2 separate regions of the Homo sapiens genome follow, and region 2 is linked to region 1. Evidence: promoter capture Hi-C in human tissues and cell types (Jung and others, 2019). All regions are on one chromosome and are shown on one strand. The core of a region is centred on a gene start or on the middle of the fragment in contact, and the rest is flanking DNA. Distances in the headings are between cores, read along the strand shown.

The links. Contacts are between HindIII fragments. The study calls those that stand out against the background at their distance.
Region 2: a contact is called between a fragment that was not itself captured here and the fragment with the promoter of MB21D2 in region 1, in 1 of the 25 tissues and cell types used here (dorsolateral prefrontal cortex).

Annotation. Positions count from the first base shown.
Region 1 is chr3:192,915,240-192,919,786 of GRCh38, reverse strand. MB21D2 (Mab-21 domain containing 2) reads left to right here and starts at 1,931. Exons shown (of 2, transcript NM_178496.4): 1 at 1,931-2,157. The coding sequence starts at 1,947. RefSeq lists a silencer at 1,626-1,985 and an enhancer at 2,636-2,965. The HindIII fragment of the contact is 14,649 bases long and covers 1-4,547 here.
Region 2 is chr3:193,246,010-193,250,556 of GRCh38, reverse strand. All of the region lies in intron 1 of PLAAT1 (phospholipase A and acyltransferase 1), which reads right to left. Among named protein-coding and RNA genes, the nearest start is that of MGC2889, 6.5 kb to the right of the region's middle. The HindIII fragment of the contact is 3,416 bases long and covers 720-4,135 here.

The DNA.
Region 1 (4,547 bases), core at 682-3,181:
TCCCAGGAGGTTGAGGTTGCTGTGAGCCACGATTGTGCCACTGCACTCTGGCCTGGGCTACAGAGGAAGACCCTGTTTCAGAAACAAACAAACACACACACACACAACCCAAAACAAAAAGCAATGATGAAGCAAGGTCAAAATTCATTAGCATCATATGAAAGCTTCTGAGAGTAGGTTCTGAGGAAGGAAAAGTTGCCACCAGCTTGAGGGGAGGGTCTCCGGAAAGCTGTAAGAAAAAGGCAGACGCGGATTGGTTTTGGTGTAAACGGAGTAAAGAAGAGAGGAATTCCAGGGGGAGGTCAGTGGTCAGGTCTGTGTTTTCTAAAGATCACTCTGGCAACAAGTTGTTACTAGATTGAGGAACAGTGAAAGAATTAATAACAATAATAGTAGAAGCTGATAATAGCTAAGTACTTATTATGTCAGTCCTTGAACTAAGTGCTTGACCTGTTTTATCTCACGTAATCCTTAAAACAACCTGTGAGACAGGAATTATTATTCCCATTTTATAGGGGAAGGCATGGAAGAGTCCGTACTTCCTTCCATGTCTAACAAAACAATTTGTATTCTTGGCCATGAGAACTCGGGTAAGAAAGTGAAACAGACCTGATCTAAATCAGGGACTGTGGGATAGAGAAGAGAGATTTTGGAGAATTAGGGAGGAAGATAACCTATGTTTCTCACAGCCAATGGGCCTCCTAAGTGTTTGAATGATACACCCCATAAACACTAAAACCACCTCTGAGACTCTATTCTGCCTAAAGGACTATGACTTAGATTGAACCTGCCTTGTCATGTAAGCCTAACTCCATGGTAGGAGCCATGTCTTTTGGTTATCACTGTCACATTCTGTCACTCCATCTGGCAAATGGTGCGTACTCAAATTTTATCTGTTGAATGAGAAAATTTTCATCTTGTCATCCAACATTTCTTGGAACCTGGGGCAATACATTGTTTCCCCTCTCCCACACCCACACTTCAGTTTCCCTATCTTTATATTAGAGTAGGTTGAATCTCATTAACTCATTATATGTTAAGATAAATAAGCTGTTATTCAGGTCATTAATTACCTTGGGCAAAGGTAGGGATATCTAGGGGTTAGTGGGAGTGCCAATACTGGGTTAGATGTGGACCCTCTTTTTTTATACGCTCAATCCTATCATCTTGGCAATCCAAGAGGAAAAGGGTAGAAGACAGGTTTCATATTCCTTAAGGCAGTTTCCTTTACTATTTAAAGGTATTGGAGTTCTTGGGATAGAGAGGTAAACGCGCACAGAGATGTCCTCCCCCAGGACACCGCCCTTAAAATCAAACGGAGGAAGACTTTCTTCTCCTTGAATGCGCTTGGCAAACCCTGCCCAGAAAGGGGATGGGGGGACGGCCGTGGAGGTGGAGAAAGAATGCATCCACACCTCGCGCGTCTTCCCAAGTACGGATTGGCAAGTGGTATATGCGTGCAGACCTCTGTCATTTATTTATTTTCCTTTCCACTGGGTGCGCTGTCCCTTTAAATGGAGACGCTGGTGCTGGCTCCGTAACACCGGAGCCGGCAGCTTGTTGATTTCAGAGCTGGTGAATTTCACATTGTTTCCACTTCACTTTCCTCGCCCGGGGGAGGCTCCAGTTGGCTCTACGACCGCCGTTGCCGCTGCCAGAGAGGGCCAGGGCAGGGCAGGGACGCGCAGCATCGGGGCGGGCGTGGGGCCGGAGAAAAGGGTGTCGGGGCCACACACGCACCCTCGCTGCAGTCCAGCTCCTCCCGAAGCTCGCACGCCCAGAGCGCACGGAGCGGGGGACTGCCCGCCCAGACGCCCGCCCGCCAACCCGCCCACGAGCCGGGGCCAAAGCCTGGGAGCCTGCGAGGGGAGGAGGCCCAGGGGGGCGGGGTGGGGGGCGGGGGTGGGTGCCGCGCTGCCGCGGAGCTGCTACTCGGCGCGTTTTGCATGAAGATGGCGGCTCCCACCGCCAACAAGGCAGCCTCCCTGGGCTGTAACAACAAGCCTGCGTTCCCGGAGCTGGATTTCAGGTCGGGAGCTCGGGTGGAGGAATTGAACAAACTCATCCAAGAATTTACGAAGCACGACCAGCGGGAATACGACGACCAGAGAGCGCTGGAGATTCACACAGCCAAGGATTTCATCTTTTCCATGCTGGGTAAGGAGGAAAAAGGGGGAGGTGTGTGTGCGTGTGTGTGTGTGATGGGAAGCGGAGTAGAAAACCCATTGCCGCTTCTCGACCTCTTCCCTTCTGGGTTGCCTTCCCGAGCCGGTGCCTTGGGTATAAGCCATCTCTGTTCCGCCTCTCTCTTCTTTCTCCGCCGAAAGCCGAGCTGCCTGCCCTCCCCTCCTTACTATACTTTACGCCGGGTCTCCCTTTCCCCCTGTTCGCTTGCTCTTTTGTTAATTTCTCCGCCACCTGGGGCTGGCAGGCAGGTGAGGCGTTCGCGGTGAAGCGTTGCACTGTTGGGGGAAGCCCCTGGAAGCGAGTGCAGTCCAGGTGAGCCCCTGAGGTGCCTTCAGTTGAGGGATTTGGCTGCCGGAGGCAGGGACCTCCGCTTTCCCGACGCCGGCTCTTGGGTGCTCTCCCGAGCTTGGGAGCGGAGACGGCTCAGGGCTCTGGCTTGGCGCCCGAGCGACAAGTTGCTTCTGTCGTCTCGCGGCGCGGCGCTGTCATGCCGAGCCCCCGGTGGCCAAACTTGTTGGGTGTTCCCGAGTAACCCGCTGAAGTAGTCTAGGCGTCCGGAGTTCCTGCAACTTTGATTTGCAAATTGACTTCTCTTATGAAGCGATCGGAAGCATTTCCGGTGCTTCTTCAGGGCTCTCGCTGAGCTCGGAATTCTTAATTCCCAGCTCTTCCGTGACTAGGCGCGGAGCTCTGGCCGCAGAGGAGCGCCGGTTCCCTGCTCTTTGTGTATTGTCTTAGCGCTGGCCGAAAGAGGTGCCCAGAGTTTCCAACCGCGGAGACGTCGGGGGCTAGAAAATGTGTCCCCCACTCCCACCTCCAGCCCCTCACCTACGGCTCCTGAAACATGATTGAATGCTGTGTAAAGGAACATAATTGAGCCAGGCCCGGGAGACCGAGCCCACCCTCCCCAGGTGTCCTGCCGTTGGGATTATTGCTACTGAGGTGTAGTGTGAGTTTGCCAGGCGCCTGGGTTGTAACTTGCGGCTCCGCCAGCGGATCCGTGGCTGTCAAGCGGTGCGTGGCCGGCGGTCAACATTCCGAAGAACTGGTACTCCAGGGTAGCGCTGCTCTAACGCTCGTCTCTGGGTGCTCTCTACAAATAGATAAGCCAATTTTCCAGGTGTTGAAAAATTTGATTGGGAAAGGTCTTTTGGCCACAGACTAAGACAGGGCTTTTCTCTTTCTCCTGCAATCTAATTGGGTTTCAGCCGGCTGTTGCTGCTTCTATCCTGGGATACCTTCTTCCTTCTAGGTTTTCTTCTTCCTCACTGCCCAAGGACGGGGTAATACAGACTGAACGTGTCTGTGTCCGCTGGTAGTTGTTCACGCGTTGGGAAGTTAGATGAAACATGTTAAAACTCTAGGCTGGTTTTTACCTTTTGCGCCGCACTCTTCAAGTGTGTCTTACGTTGCGTATGAGGTTGAAAAACTATTGAGAGATTCAGCCGTTCAACTATGTAGATGAATAGATGAATTAAATATATATATATATATATATATAAAACCTGGTAGGAGTGAGCTTCCACAGGGAAGCCTAAAATGCTTACAAAGCCAAAAGCCAACACAGTGATTGTCAGGAAGGTGGGGCCACACACAGAAGGCTGAGCGCAGTTACTTAAGTTGTTTAGTTAATCATAGCCTTTCTCTGTGGCATAAATAATGGAAGTCTGCCATTGTGTTAATACAGCCCCCAGATCAGTTCTGATGTCACTTGCGTAGGTCATTTACTAGAAGAAGGTACTGGGTCACCACCAGTTAGGGTAGTCATGGGTCAGGAAATGGGATAATGTAGGGAGGGTAAATTTAAGTGCCTGGCTCATGAGGAACTTCTGTGCTTAACTCCAAAGCTGATACACTGAATCAGCAAAGCTTTTATCCAAATATAAAAAAGTAAATTATTCTAGGGTGCTTAATTTTTGCATGTGTTTAATGCCATGGGTGGCATTGTGTTGACAGGTAAACTAGATTTGCTTCTATTCCTTTTTACCCAGTTGACCTTGCAAGCAGTCTTTCTTGCCCCCTGGGAATTTAGCATTTCCACCTGCAGGAGAGAAGATTCAAGAGAGTGTCATTTAAGCCTTTTGCCCCTCTGGACACTAGAAGGCAGATGGCGAAATGAGCTTGCTTGCCTGTGTGTGGTGCTGCATTCATTTGCGAGTTCCTTGCTTTCCTTTAATGAGATGCTGGCTGCTCTACACAAGTGGAGGTTTGGCGACAGCAAGGGTTCCTATGTGGATTTACTTTTTCTAAAGCAGATTTTGGCTTGGCTTAAAGAACAAAATCATTTTTTTTATACACTTTGTTTCACTTGCCATAGCTTTGGTTCTTTGATGACTATGCAAATGAAGTCTCTTAATGAC
Region 2 (4,547 bases), core at 1,178-3,677, 330 kb before region 1:
TAGTCTGGGAGTTGACAGAGTTCTTCATTTTTGAGTCTCGTAGACAACAAAGAACAAAAACGTGGCTTTTTAACTTGAAAATGTTCAGCAGCAATCTCTCCAGGTCCAATGTGAGCAGTCTATCAAGAGTATAAGCATCCGCCTCAGACATTCTCCTTGGTATAGGGCAGAATGAGTGGGAGATTAAACTCTGCTCAAAGCTTCTCTGCAAAGAAAAAAGAAACTGGAACACACAACTAACACCTCAGTCTCTCCAGCTTCATTTCAAGGGACTGGCTTCTATCCCACCTCTCATAGGCAATGACTTGAAACTTTAATTTGGGTTGGCGGTGGGGGACAATAAGAATAAAAAATAGCAGATTTTACAAGCACAAAGAGGTTAGTGGATTCTAACAATCTTTGAAGAGGCTGATTGGAAAGGAACATCTCCTACACAAGACCAGTCTAGCAAGACTGAGAAAGGTGGTTCTTTTATCTAATGTGCAGAAAACAACATAGGGAACGGAGGAAAATGAAGAAACATAGAAATATGTTCCAAATAAAATAACAAGATAAATTAAATCTCCAGAAAGTGACTCTAATGAAATGTAAATATGTGATTTATCTGACAGGGAATTCAAAAGGGCAGTCATAACAATTTTTATTGAGGTAGGGAAAGCAATGCATGAAAAAACTGGGAACTTCAACGATGAGACAGAAAATATTAAAAAGTACCAAACAAACCATCAAGCTGAATAATAATATAACTGAAATGAAAAAACCAATAAGGAGGTTCAACAGTAGAATAAATCAAGCAGAAGTAAGAATTAGCAAACTTGAATACGGGTCATTGGTAAATCATAATTTGAGGATTTTTAAAGAAAAAAGAATGAAAAAGAGTGAAACAGCCTAACAGCCTTAGTGGACAGCATTAAACAGAATATGTGAATTATTGTTGTACAAGAAAGGGAAGAGAGAAAGGGACAGAAAATATATTCAAAGACATATAGCAAGTCCTCATTTAATGTCACTGATAGATCCTTGGAAACTGACTTAAAGCAAAACAACATATAATGAAAGGAATTTTTTTCTCATCAACATAATGAAATGACATTGAGTAAAATGATGTTATTCAAAAGCCGCTATAAATCATTTTGGTTAAAGTTGCAGTTTCCAAGAACCTATGAACATTAAACAAGAATCTACTGCAATTGCGAAAACCTTCCTAAGTGTAGGGAAGGAAACAGAAATCCAGAAGCTTGACAAACATCTAACAGGATGAATCCAAGGCAAACCAAATCAAGATACATTATAATCAAATTGTGGAAAGTTAAAGACAAAGAGAAGATAGGAAAGCTGTAAGGGAAAAGCAACTTGTTACATAAAAGGGGACCCCCATCAGATCTTTCAACAGAAACCCTGCAGGGTAGAAGGGAATAAGATATGGTCAAAGAGCTAAAAGAAAAAAAACCCTGCCAACCAAGAATACTACACTCAGCAATCCTGTCCTTCAAAAAGGAAGAGAAGAAGGGGAGCTTTAAAAAAAACTTTCTCAGATAAACAAAAGCTGAGGGAATTTATCACAACTAGACCTGCCTTACAAGAAATACTAAAATGGGCACTTCACATTGAAGGAAAATATCACTAAGTAGCAACATGGAAATACATAAAAATAAAAACTCACTGGTAAAAGTAAGTATATAGTCAAACACAGAACACTTGTACTGTAATTGTAGTATGAAAATAAATTATATCTCTAATATAAAGGTTAAAAGAAGAAAAACTATTCAAAACACATATAGCAACTATACTTTGCTAATGGACATGCCAAAAACTATTTAAAAATTGTCAATAAAAACAAATTGTTGGAGGGGATAGTAAAAGTTTAGAGTTTGTACAAGTGATCAAAGTGAAGTAATTATAAGCTTAAAATAGCTTGTCATTAGTATAAGACGTTTTATGTAAGCCTCCTAGTAACCACAAAGGAAAAATTCTTAGTAGATACACAAAAGATAAAAAGAAAGAATTCAAAGCATACCACTACAAAAAATCATTAAATTGCAAAGGAAGCAAGCAAGAGAGGAAAACAGAAAACAAAAGATCTACAAATTAACCAGAAAACAACAAAACACCAATAGTAAGTTCTTACCTACCAATAATTACTTTGAATGTAAGTGTATTAAATTCTCCAGTCAAAACATATTGAATGGTTCAATGGATTAAAAAAAAAGACCCAACTATATGCTGCCTACAATAGATTAACTTCACCTCTCTTAACCTTTAAGAACACATATAAGCTGATAATGAAGGGATGAAAAAAGATATTCCACACAAATGGAAACCAACACAAAGTGGGAGTAGCTATACTTCTATCAGACAAAATAGACTGTAAGTGAAAAACTGCAGAAAGATATGAAAAGTTATTATATAATGATGAAGGGGTCAATTCATAAAGAAAATATAACAATTATATATGCACCCAATATCAAAGCACCGAATACATAAAGCAAATATTAATAGATCTGATGAGAGACATGGACTGCAATACAATAATGTCCCGCTTTCAACATTGGACAGATCTAGACCAAAAATCAACAAGGAAATATTGAACTTGAACTATACTTTAAGCCAAATGGACCTAACAAATATTTACAGAAAACTTCATCCAACAACAATTGAATATACATTTTTCTCAATTGCACATGGAGTATTCTCCAGGGTAGATCATATGATATATCACAAAGCAAATCTCAACAAATTTAAGAAGACTGAAATCTTATCAAGTATTTCTTCTGACCACAATGGCACAAACCTAGAAATCAATAACAGGAGGAATCTTGGAAAACTCTATGTGGAAATTAAATAACATGCCCTTCAACAACCAATGAGTCAAATAAAAAATTAAAAGGAAAATTTAAAAATATCTTGAGACAAAAAAAAGAGGAAACTGATATTGATGCAGGATTTTTTACTCCTTAGCTCAGCTAGGTCTGGGCTCTTGTCTCATGACCAGGAATAATTAGGCACGCAGACACTTGAAGAGTGACTGGAGTAGAATTTATTAAGCAAAAGGAATGTTCTCAGCAAAGAGAGGGGTCCTGAAAGCAGGTTAGTCATTGCCCCCTCAGAGCTGAATACAAGGGCTTTATATATAACCTGATGAGGCTGAGCTCCCTATCTGTATAAGGCGTGAATTTCTGGTGGCTCCACATATTCCTCCAGTGTGCATGTGGGCCCTTAGTGTGCTGTGGGCATGTTTAGGCAAGCCCCCTGTGCAAGTTCCCTTATCTGCACAAAATATCTGGTGTAAGCACCTGTGGGGTGGGTCAGAGGTTCTCTGGGGATCCTTTACTTACTGTCTGCCTAAAGCAAGCTAACTAACTCCTTTCAACATCCCAGAAATACAAAGGATCATAGAAGACTACTATGAACAGCTAAATACCAAGAAATTGGATAACACAGAAGAAATGGATGAATTCCTAGAAACATGCAACCCAAGACTGAATCAGGAAGAAACAGAAAATCTGAGTAGACCAATAATAAATAAGGAAATTGAATTGTAATAAACAATCTCCCACCAAAGGAAAGCCCAGGACCTGATGGCTTCACAGGTGAATCCCATTAAGTGCTCAAGAAGAAATACCAATCCTTCTCAAGCTCTTCCAAAAAATTATAAAACAGGGACTACCTCAGAGCTTATTTTATGAGGCCAGTATTACCCTGACACCAAAGCCAGGCAAGAACACCCCAAGAAAACTACAGGCCAATATCCCTGATGAACACAAATGCAAAGATCTTTAACAAAATACTAGCAAACTGCATTCAACAGTAAATTTAAACGATCACTCACCATAATCAAGTGGGACTTATCCCAGGGATGCAAGGATGGGTGAACATATATAAATCAATAAATATGGGCCAGGCACTGTGGCTCATGCTTGTAATCCCAGCACTTTGGGAGGCCGAGGCAGATGGATATCTTGAGCCCAGGAGTTCTAGACCAGCCTAGGAAACATGGCTAAACCTCATCTCTACAAAAATACCAAAAGCTAACATGGTGGCATGTGCCTGTGGTCCTAACTACTTGAGAGGCTGAGGTGAGAGGACAGCTTGAGCTCGATGCGGGTGGAGGTTGCAGTGAGTCAAGATCACACCACTGCACTCCAGCTTGGGTGACAGAGTAAGACTCTGTCTCAAAAATAAATAAATAAATACATTAATAAATAAATATACCATATTAACAAAATGAACGACAAAAAGCACACAAGTATCTCAGTAGATGCAGAAAAAACATTTGACAAAATCCAACACCCATTCACGCTACAAAACTCTCAAAAAATAGGCATAGAAAGAATGTACCTTAACACAATAAAGGCCATATATGACAAGCCCACAGACACCATCATGCTCGATGGTAAAAAGTTGAAAGTTTTTCCTGTAAGATTAGAAAGACAACAGTGATTCCCACTCTCACAGCTATTCAACATAGTCTGGAAGTCCTAGCTAGAGCAATTAGGCAAGAAGAAGAAATAAAAGGCATTCATATAGGAATGGAAGAAGTGTATTTC